Linked DNA regions of Homo sapiens: region 1 is linked to region 2. Evidence: promoter capture Hi-C in 16 types of primary human blood cells and fetal thymus (Javierre and others, 2016). All regions are on one chromosome and are shown on one strand. The core of a region is centred on a gene start or on the middle of the fragment in contact, and the rest is flanking DNA. Distances in the headings are between cores, read along the strand shown. Region 1 holds the start of ZNF230 (zinc finger protein 230). Region 2 holds the start of ZNF235 (zinc finger protein 235).

The links. The method cuts DNA at HindIII sites, captures the fragments that hold promoters and counts their contacts. A CHiCAGO score of 5 or more calls a contact.
Region 1: a contact is called between a fragment that was not itself captured here and the fragment with the promoter of ZNF235 in region 2, in 13 of 17 cell types (monocytes, non-activated CD4 T cells, naive CD4 T cells and 10 more). The highest score is 11.1, in monocytes.

Annotation. Positions count from the first base shown.
Region 1 is chr19:44,001,822-44,006,277 of GRCh38, forward strand. It overlaps ZNF230 (zinc finger protein 230), which reads left to right and starts at 1,136. Exons shown (of 5, transcript NM_006300.4): 1 at 1,136-1,286. It overlaps ZNF230-DT (ZNF230 divergent transcript), which reads right to left and starts at 1,049. Exons shown (of 3, transcript NR_110727.1): 1 at 444-1,049. RefSeq lists an enhancer at 899-1,408. The HindIII fragment of the contact is 1,145 bases long and covers 1,330-2,474 here.
Region 2 is chr19:44,301,851-44,306,681 of GRCh38, forward strand. ZNF235 (zinc finger protein 235) reads right to left here and starts at 3,175. Exons shown (of 5, transcript NM_004234.4): 1 at 3,121-3,175; 2 at 1,540-1,602. The coding sequence starts at 1,554. RefSeq lists enhancers at 2,958-3,511, 4,088-4,589, 4,590-4,831. The HindIII fragment of the contact is 5,796 bases long and covers 2,742-4,831 here.

The sequences.
Region 1 (4,456 bases), core at 652-3,151, 300 kb before region 2:
GGCATCATAGCTCACTGCAGCCTCAATCAAACTCCTGGGCTTCAGCAATCCTCCCACCTCAGCCTCCTGAGTACTTGGAACTTGTAGTCCCAAGATCAGGCCACCATGCCTGGCCAGTTAAAAAAAAATTTTTATAGAGACGAAGTCTCCCTGTATTTCCCTGTCTGGTCTCCAATTCCTGAGCTCAAGGGAACGTCCTGCCCTGGCCTCCCAAAGGGTTGGCATTACAGGTTTGAGCCACTGCGCTTGGCCAGGAAGAAAACTCTTTATAAGACATGCTCCTTCACCTATAGAATCCTCCCGTTTTACTGCATTTACAATCTCAATGTAAGATTGATACCAATGCCTAGCTCTTCATCAGTCATTATTGCTCTGAGGTACTGAGCAATTCACTACATTCGCTGAAATTTGATGTTTCTACATCTAAGGAGAAATATGAATACCATGAAAAGTTTATGGGAAGATAGCTATTCCATGACGACACCGCTTCTCCACTAGTAGCTGTGATCTTAAATGGGGGTGGCTTTTCCTGCCAAACCAGTGGTCCCACAGCTTCTGGAGTAGGGGCTGGTGTCTTCCTGCTCCTCATTGCCCCTGCCAAACCATTCCACCTGGCTCATCCTTTAAACCGTTAGTTTTAACCTCCCATCGTCAGATTATCCTAATCCTTGAAGATTTTATCTCCTCGTTTGTTCTCTTCCCAATAACACTCCTGTCATCGTGGGAGGCGTTTAGACTTCAGGAATTCCTGTCTATACACTATTTTCGCTCAAAGACTCAGGAAGAGAGACGGACGACTCACAGGGTCACAGTCCACATTCCCCACCAGGCGCTCAGAGATATGGAATACGTTCCCGGTGGGCACTGCGGTGTGTGTAGTCAAGGACCACCGCGGAGTCCAACGCTTCCCGCTGAAGAGTGAGATTATAGACATTTTCCTTTGGCATTGGAGGAAGCGGAGTCCAGACACACTCTGAGTCGCGGGCAAGTTGGCTCAGGCGGGTGGACGAGTGAATTCTGGGAACTGTAGTCCATCAACTTCATGGAATGGCGGACCCTTTGGCTCAAGCAGTTGAACCGGGGAATTCTGGGAAGTGGAGTCCAGACGCTCTGTGGAGACGCGAGCACTTCCGGTGTGTGAGCCTGCGGTTGCTACATAACCGCGTAGTTTGAGCCATTTCTGCGTCTGGCGGGTCCTTCTGAACTTGTCACCTTCGCTTGGGGTCGCAACGACCCGATGATCGATGATCCAAGCAAGGGAAAAGAAGCCTTGGCGGAGAGCGGAGGTTTGGTGGGGGCGGGGAATGGGGTTTTTTTCCCGTCCACGGAAGCTTTCTGGGATGGGGGTGCTGTGCTCGCATCCCGGGGGTTGGAATTGGCGGGGTCCTCTGTGCCCTGCTGTGAGCGTTTCCAGGACTTTGACCTCGCTCAGCCTGCCTCTCTCCACCCTACCTGTGCGACCGCTTTCTCGCAGTGTGACGTGGAGTGTTACTCAATGTCCTTATACTTTCCATTGCTGTTTTTGGTAATGGGGACATTAGAACCATCCTAGTAGAATCGTTTTTGGGAACTGAAAGAGATAACGCAAATGAGAACCTTAAAGCAGTCCCTGTCACTTGGTGACTGGTGGTCTCTTGTTAACTTCCCGAAGAGGTCAGGTCCCCGGGTGGAGTCATAGCTTCAGCTGCAGGGGCCCTGGTCCTTCTCCCTAATCCCTGCAGGACGCTGGATGATCCCGGGAGGCCTTCTGACCTCTTTTTAGGAAAGCGAGTTGCGTCCGCTTCCACGAAGGGCGGGGAGCATTTAACTTTTATGGGGGACCGCGATGCAGTCAGGGTATTTCACAACTTTCGCCTTCCCCAGCCTGACCTTTCTAAAAGAGCTGCAGGGAGGGGACTTCTTGGCTACTGAGGGCAAATCTCTATGTGATTGGTCCTTGGCTTTTTTCCTTTATAGAGATGTTCACCCAACCGAGAGTGTGTCCTCGGGAATGGGTGTTGATAATCATTAAGCCGTAATTGGTAACTTCATTCTAAGTGCTTTATACAAATAAATTTAGGCCACACTGTGGCTCTGTGAAGTATTGCTTTTCTTTGTTTTAAAAATGAGAGTGAGACACAGGGTGCATAGCAGCCAACTAGTGAGAGGTAGAGCTGGGGTTGGCACCTAGGCAGTCCAGGTCAGAGCCTGAGTTGATCACCTCTTGGATACATTCTCATTGAGGCAGAGGAACTAGCTGGACTCGTAGGGAAAGCAAGTTAGGACCTGATTGAAAGGACGTTGAGAGCAAGGCTCGTGGGCTTGGACGTCTAGGAATTTTTAAAAATTTCTCAACTATTTTGTTTCATGTTTTCCAAGTATTTCGTACTGTTGTGGAACTGTATCATTGTGGAAAAGTCTGAAATAGGAGAAATGAGAGTAGAAAAAGTTTTTTAATTACCCATGTATCCAAGATGTAAAGGTAGTAACTGTTAAGCTTCTAATTGATTTCTTTTGTCTTTCTTTGTGTCTACTTCTATATTTGTTGATAAACATTTTTTTAAAAATTGTTATATTTTAATGTGTTTTCCCATATGTCTTTTAACTATAGAAAATTTTAAATATTGCTAATAGAGACTAAACTAGTGAGGCTGGTTGTGGTGGCTCATGCCTATAATCCCAGCACTTTGGGAGGCCAAGGCAGGTGGATCACTTGAGGTCAGTAGTTTGAGACCAGCCTGGCCAACATGGTGAAACCCCATCTCTACCAAAAATACAAATATTAGCCGGGCGTGATGGCACGTGCCTGTAGTCCCAGCTACTCTAGAGGCTGAGGCAGGAGAATTGCTTAAACCCGGGAGGTGGAGGTTGCAGTGAGCCAAGATCACGCCACTGCACTCCAGCCTGGGCAACAGAGTGAGACTCAAAAAAAAAAAAAAAAAAAAGAATAAACTAGTGAACTGCCATATTATATAATGCTCAATTTTATTATTCCCATTATCCTTATGACTATTTCCTGATATCTAAAATATTTTTGCTGGGCGCGGTGGCTCACGCCTGTAATCCCAGCACTTTGGGAGGCCGAGGCGGGTGGATCACGAGGTCAGGAGATCGAGACCATCCTGGCCAACATGGTGAAACCCCATCTCTACTAAAAAAAAAAATACAAAAAATTAGCTGGGCATGGTGGCAGGCAGTTGTGGTCCCAGCTACTCCAGAGGCTGAGGCAGGAGAAAGGCGTGAGCCCGGGAGGCGGAGCTTGCAGTGAGCGAGATCGCGCCACTGCACTCCAGCCTGGGCTAGGGAGCGAGACTCTGTCTCAAAAAAAAAAAAATTAAAAACTAAAAACAAAATAAAATATTTTCATCTTTATATCATTTAAAAGCTATAGAAAAGTTGCAAAAATAGTATAAGGAGTTCTCATACTCTATCCAAATTTGCCAATTGTTTACATTTTTCCTGGTTGCTTTGTTGATGACCATCAGCCAAATACCACCAGGAACATAACTAACCAGAGACAGCTGATTATGGCTTTCTGCAGCAAGGAAGCCCACATACCATGGTAAATGTGGGGTGTGTTGGTAAGAGGTATTTAAGAAGGGATGGTATAGGGTTTCACATAACATGCTAGATAATATTAGATATTAAATAATATTGTTATCTATTACATATCAGATCTGTTAAAAGACTACTAGTAGTTGTAGTGTTACTCATTAGATAGTGTTGAATAGCATATTACCTAACATCCTGTTATCTAATCTGTAGTTACATATTTAAATTTGTTCAGTTTTTCATTTAAAGTCCTATGCCAGGCACAGTGGCTCATGCCTGTAATCCCAGCATTTTGGGAGGCAACGGCGGGTGGATCTCCTGAGGTCAGGAGTTCGAGACCAGCCTGGCCAACATGGTGACACCTTGTCTCTACTAAAAATATTTTTAAAAGCCGGGTGTGGTGGCATGCTCCTGTAATCCCTGCTACTTGGGAGGCTAAGGCAAGAGAATCACCTGAACCCAGCAGGCGGAGGTTGCAGTGAGCTGAGATCGCGCCACTGCACTCCAGCATGGGTGACAGAGCGAGACTCTGTCTCAAAAAATAAAAAAATAAAGTCCTTATGACTGTGTCCCCTACCCCACCCTTCACCTGCAATGCCATTCAAAGTCCAGTTTATGCATTGTCTTTAGTTGTCACATTCCACAGTTTCTTTAGTCTAGAAAGATTCCACAGTCTTTGTCTTTTATAAACATGGTGGTTTTTTTTTTAATAGGAAAGTTATTTTGGAGAAAGATGTTCATTTGGAGTTTGATATATTTCATGTTTAGTTTCAGATTATGTATTGTTGGTAAGGATATTGCACAAGTGATGAGGTTTCCTCTTTATTGCAACATAACAGGGTTCACATGATGTGGTTTGTCCCTTCACTGGTGATCTCAACTGTGTTCACTTGGCCAAGATGATGCCTTTCAGATTTGTCCGCTG
Region 2 (4,831 bases), core at 1,925-4,424:
TAAAGGTTCACACCTGTCTCTTTATGTTTAAAATACAGATAAGGCCATCTACATCCTCACAAAGCTGTTCCATGGTGCAAATTCCTGGTGAATCTCCTAGTGCTATAAGACTTTTAAACTAAGTATGTGCATCTTTAAAATATAATAACATGTTAATGAATAAAACAGATACTTAACTATAATACAAGGTTTTACTTAGAATTAAAGAAAGAAATCTAGCTCGTTTGAAACTAAAATTACTTTCTCTGAGTTTGGCATCAGTCAGATGCTACTGCACTAAGCTATACTTTATTCTCTCCATAAAATGAGGTGCTGTGTATGAGAAAATGAGTCTAAAACTTTAAAGATTAAAAAAATGGTAGAATTCTCAGAATCCTTATTTGGGAAGAGAAGTTACATGGGGAAAAACTGCTATTGTCAATGTCCTTAAAATGGCAAAATTCATAGATTACATAAACATGGAGAATGAGGAAAAATAAAAACAAGTAAATGATGGAAAATGATGTGATCATTTAAAAAGCAGGTGATATAAAATTAAATTTAAAAAATTCGAAATTGTACCTAAAGTATGATTATATATGTTGAGTGCAAATGAAAAGGAATGTGGGAAATGATTTGTAAACATATTTGTAATGTGAGAGTTGTTTTCCATTTAAAAAATATATCTGTTAGGCCACGGCAGGAGGATCTCTTAAGCCCAGAAGTTCAAGACCAGCCTGGGAAACACAGGAACACCCCATCTCTACTAAAAATAATTAGCTGGTTGTGCTGGTGTGTGCCCGTGGTCCCACCTGCTCAAGAGGCTAAGGTGGGAGGATCTCTTGAGCCCAGGCCCAGGCTGCAGTGAGCCACTGCACTCCAGCCTGGGAAACAGGGTGAGACTCTGTCTCTAAATATATATAGAGATTTATATTTACATATATATATATATATAAAACTATATACTTATATATGAGTATATATATACTTATATATATATAACTATATACTTATATATGAGTAAATATATACTTATATATATTTGTATGTGTTTATATATACATATTTGTATATAAATATATACGTATATATTTGTATGTATTTATATATACATATTTGTATATATAAATATATACGTATATATGTATATATTTATATATAAATATATACATATATACGTATATATTTATATAAAATATACGTATATATTGTATACATTTATATAAAATATACGTATATATTTGTATATATAATACATATATACAAATATACGTATATTTCTTATAAATATATACATATATATTTGTATATAAATATAAAATATATACGTATATATAAATATATAATTATATAGAAATATATTTTAGAAATTAACAGATATATATATATCTCTCTGTTAATTTTTATACTATTATATTGAAATAAAAGGCAACAACCTGGCATATAACAACATTCCAAGTGCCTTTCGTTCCCTTTTACTGTTCCCAAACAGGAAAAATGTGTCCAATCTTTGTGAAATGAGATGTCATTTTAAGAAACACAAAGGCAAACCAAACTTACCTGGAACTTGGTCATTTTTCCCCTCCTCCTTCTGGGAAAAGGCAGAGTTCCGGGGAAGTGAACCTGAGGGAGGGAAAGGCATCATGAGATAGGTTAGGGATGGCATTAGTCACCATGGCACTTTTATGTGACACTTCAGAGAAAGGTCCCCCTGTCTCTAGGCAGACACAGTTGCACACGGCTTAGTGAGGAGAACGGGAGCTAGCTCCCAGCTACCCCTCGGCCCCCTCAACCAGCTGCTTTTGTTCATGAACATTTCATATTAACAGACCTAAATCAAATACAGCTCTCTGTGTACTCCTTCTGAACTTTAGTTTCCAAGGAAATGAGACACAGACAGGCAGGGGAATGTAACAGAGCCAAAATGCCTGGCTTCAAATTTTGGCATTTCTACCTATTTTCAACTGATCAGCAGTATAAACCTTAAGCGAATTATTAATCTCTCTGTGCCTTAATTCAGTTACCTGTGAATGGGGACAATAATAATGCCTGTATTCTCTATTTCCTGCAGCTTCTGACAAGCAAGTGCTATTATGCTTCATAAAACTGCCCTTTTGAGTATGCTTTCTAGAAAATGAATCTTTTAAGAAACCCAGAACTCAAAAATAATTGCTCTGTCCTGTGAGTTACCATTACCCTCAGAAAAGTCTGTAACTGTGATTGGTTGTCTAACATAATTAGTTCCGTTGGTAATGATAGTTAAACTGCCACAGGTTTTTTTTTCCTCCAACAGATGTAATTACTTGCAAATGTTACTAAGCTGGAGGAGCCTCAAGAAAGTCTCTTTTTCCACATGCATGAAAGCAATGACTAATAAAAACCTAAAACTCTCTAAGAAATGGTGTTACACTTAAGTTAACCACACGGGATTATTGGTTATAACCACATTATACTGAACATTTATTAGGGCCTCAGGACACCTCTGGCACTCTGCAAATCCGTAATGACGATCGCTTATCTGAGATAAAACACACAGGACATTCCCCAGGCTCCGCTGGAACTAATTCCTGTCTCCTAAACAAGAGGCTAGAAAAGTCCAAGAATCCAGGAACGGCCCCACATCAGGCAAGGATTAGAGAAGGGACAGCGGCTCCGTAGCTGGATCTCCTAGACTCAGAGGAGTTTCCAAACAACAGGCGTCTTTTTCAGTATTATAACAGAATTAACGGTGGCATCCAACATTTTCCTATGCACTGGTTTTAAGCTTATTTCTATAAAACCTCATTTAATTCTCACAAGAACATCACTGGGAACGCACTAACCCTTTACAGGCACGAGGAAACTGAGACAAGGAGAGATTAAGTAACTTGCCCAATATTTTACTGCGAGGAGCAGGCAGGACTGGCTGGTAGGTGCGTGAGGACGGCTAGGGCAGCAGACCCTCAACCTCGAAGGACGACGCGAGCCCGCCTCCCACGCAAGAGGTTCTGCCGAGGGGACGCAAACTCCCGCAGCCTCCCAACCCCGCCCTCCAGCGCTGGCCGCGGCTTCTCTTCCCCAAGCCAAGGACGGGTTCATTGCTGGCCCCACGCCTAGGCAAAGAGGGCTCGGAGAAGTCTTGGAGACCCGGAGCTGACTCACCTCCCTGGGAGATATCTCAGATCCGACCTCGCCTTCCTGGAGCGGAAGTGCCTCCGAGTGCCCACGGTTCGTGGACTCCACTTCCCAGAATTCCTAAGCGGAAGCGTCTCAGAGTTCTCTCACTCCTGGACTACAGTTCCCAGAATGCTCCAAGGGCAGCGCTTCCCACCAGCTGGGCTTTGTTTTGACTCAAGCCGGTTGGGTTTGAGCCACTTCTCTGGTGCTACTACTGTGAGATTCGTTTTTGTTTTATTCATTTTTAAAAGCTCATGAGAAAATAATTGTAAAATTTTTAAAGTGATGACATATAAAAATGAAAAGTGCAGCTTGTATTATTAAAATAAGTTAGAAACCAAAATTTTTCGCAGAAGCAGAGGGTAGGCTAAAATGGGAAGCGTAAAAGTGACTTAGGCTGAGCTCCGATGGACGCTGAACGTTAAGGAACACCAGATCTCAAACTTGTGTCAAATGCCGGCTCCCCAAATATCATCAACTCAACCTGTTGATAAGACAAAAAACAGAATTTATTGTTGATTGCAGTAATGGAGAACAACACTTCGACGGAGCGTTGGCACCTTCACAGAGCAAAGTGTCAAGGCAAGGTTGGAACTGATTGAGAACTGGATGTTTAAGGCGGGTCTTTCAATGCAAGGGATTTTATTAGTATTGCATAATGATCATGATACTACAGTCCAGGATTGGTGGATATAGCAAGGATTTTTGAAGCAAAGAATCTTAAATTGCAATCTATTGACACTTTCTTTGGAAGAGATTGAAAATTTGATGGGTCTCTGTGGAAGTTCCCATAATGAACAATTAAACAGTTTGCTTGGGCAGGAATCTCCTGGAATAAAGGCCTGCTGATGAAGACAGCTGAACAATCATGTTAGTGCCGAAAGTAAATTGTGATGAAACGGGAAAAGTTCACTTCTCCCTCTCCCAGGGCATGTGATGGGGTGTGGCTCGCTTCTTCGTGCCCAGCCGCTCAAACCTCTAGGGGAGCATGCACACGGGCAGGTTGTAGGGCTCCAACCCCACGGCAGTGTCTAGGGGTGAATGTTTACAGCTCCTGAAGCCCCAGTGGGCGTGTGTTATAGGGTGCTTTTTTAGTTCAGCCATCTGTAGGAGGCTTGTGTTAGCTCAATTAGACCCCTGACTTATCGCAAGCAAGAGAGGGCTTTCTGTATCCCAGAGGTTCTTGCCTTGGTGTACCAGAAGAATCGCATCACACATAGGCTTGGAGAAAGAGTGCAAGGATTGGAGAAACCTTGGAGAACGATTTGTAAGTAGCTCTCAGCAGAAGGGGGAGCCAGAAGGGAGATGGTTTTCGCCTGGAGTCAGCCTCTCAGCGGCCTGGGCGCTCCTCCGACTACCCAGGCCAAACTGCGTTATTCCACCGGTTAATGGCCTGCTGGCCTGCCGGTCTCTTCAGTGTGCTCTTTTGCCGACCCGCTCCCCTCGACAGCCTCTCGACAGCCAGCTGTTTGTGTGTCCGCCAATGCTCTCCTCTCAACGTCCAGCAGCTTGTGTCTCTGCCTGCTAGGGTATCAGGGTTTTTATAGGCACAGGATGGGGGCGTGGTGGGCCAGGGTGGTCTTGGGAAATGCAATATTTGGGCACAAAGGCAGGAATGCCTGTCCTCACCTAGGTCCGTGGCCACAGGCCTGGGGGTAGAGCCCTAGTCAGGGACCACACCCTTCTCCCCTCCAGC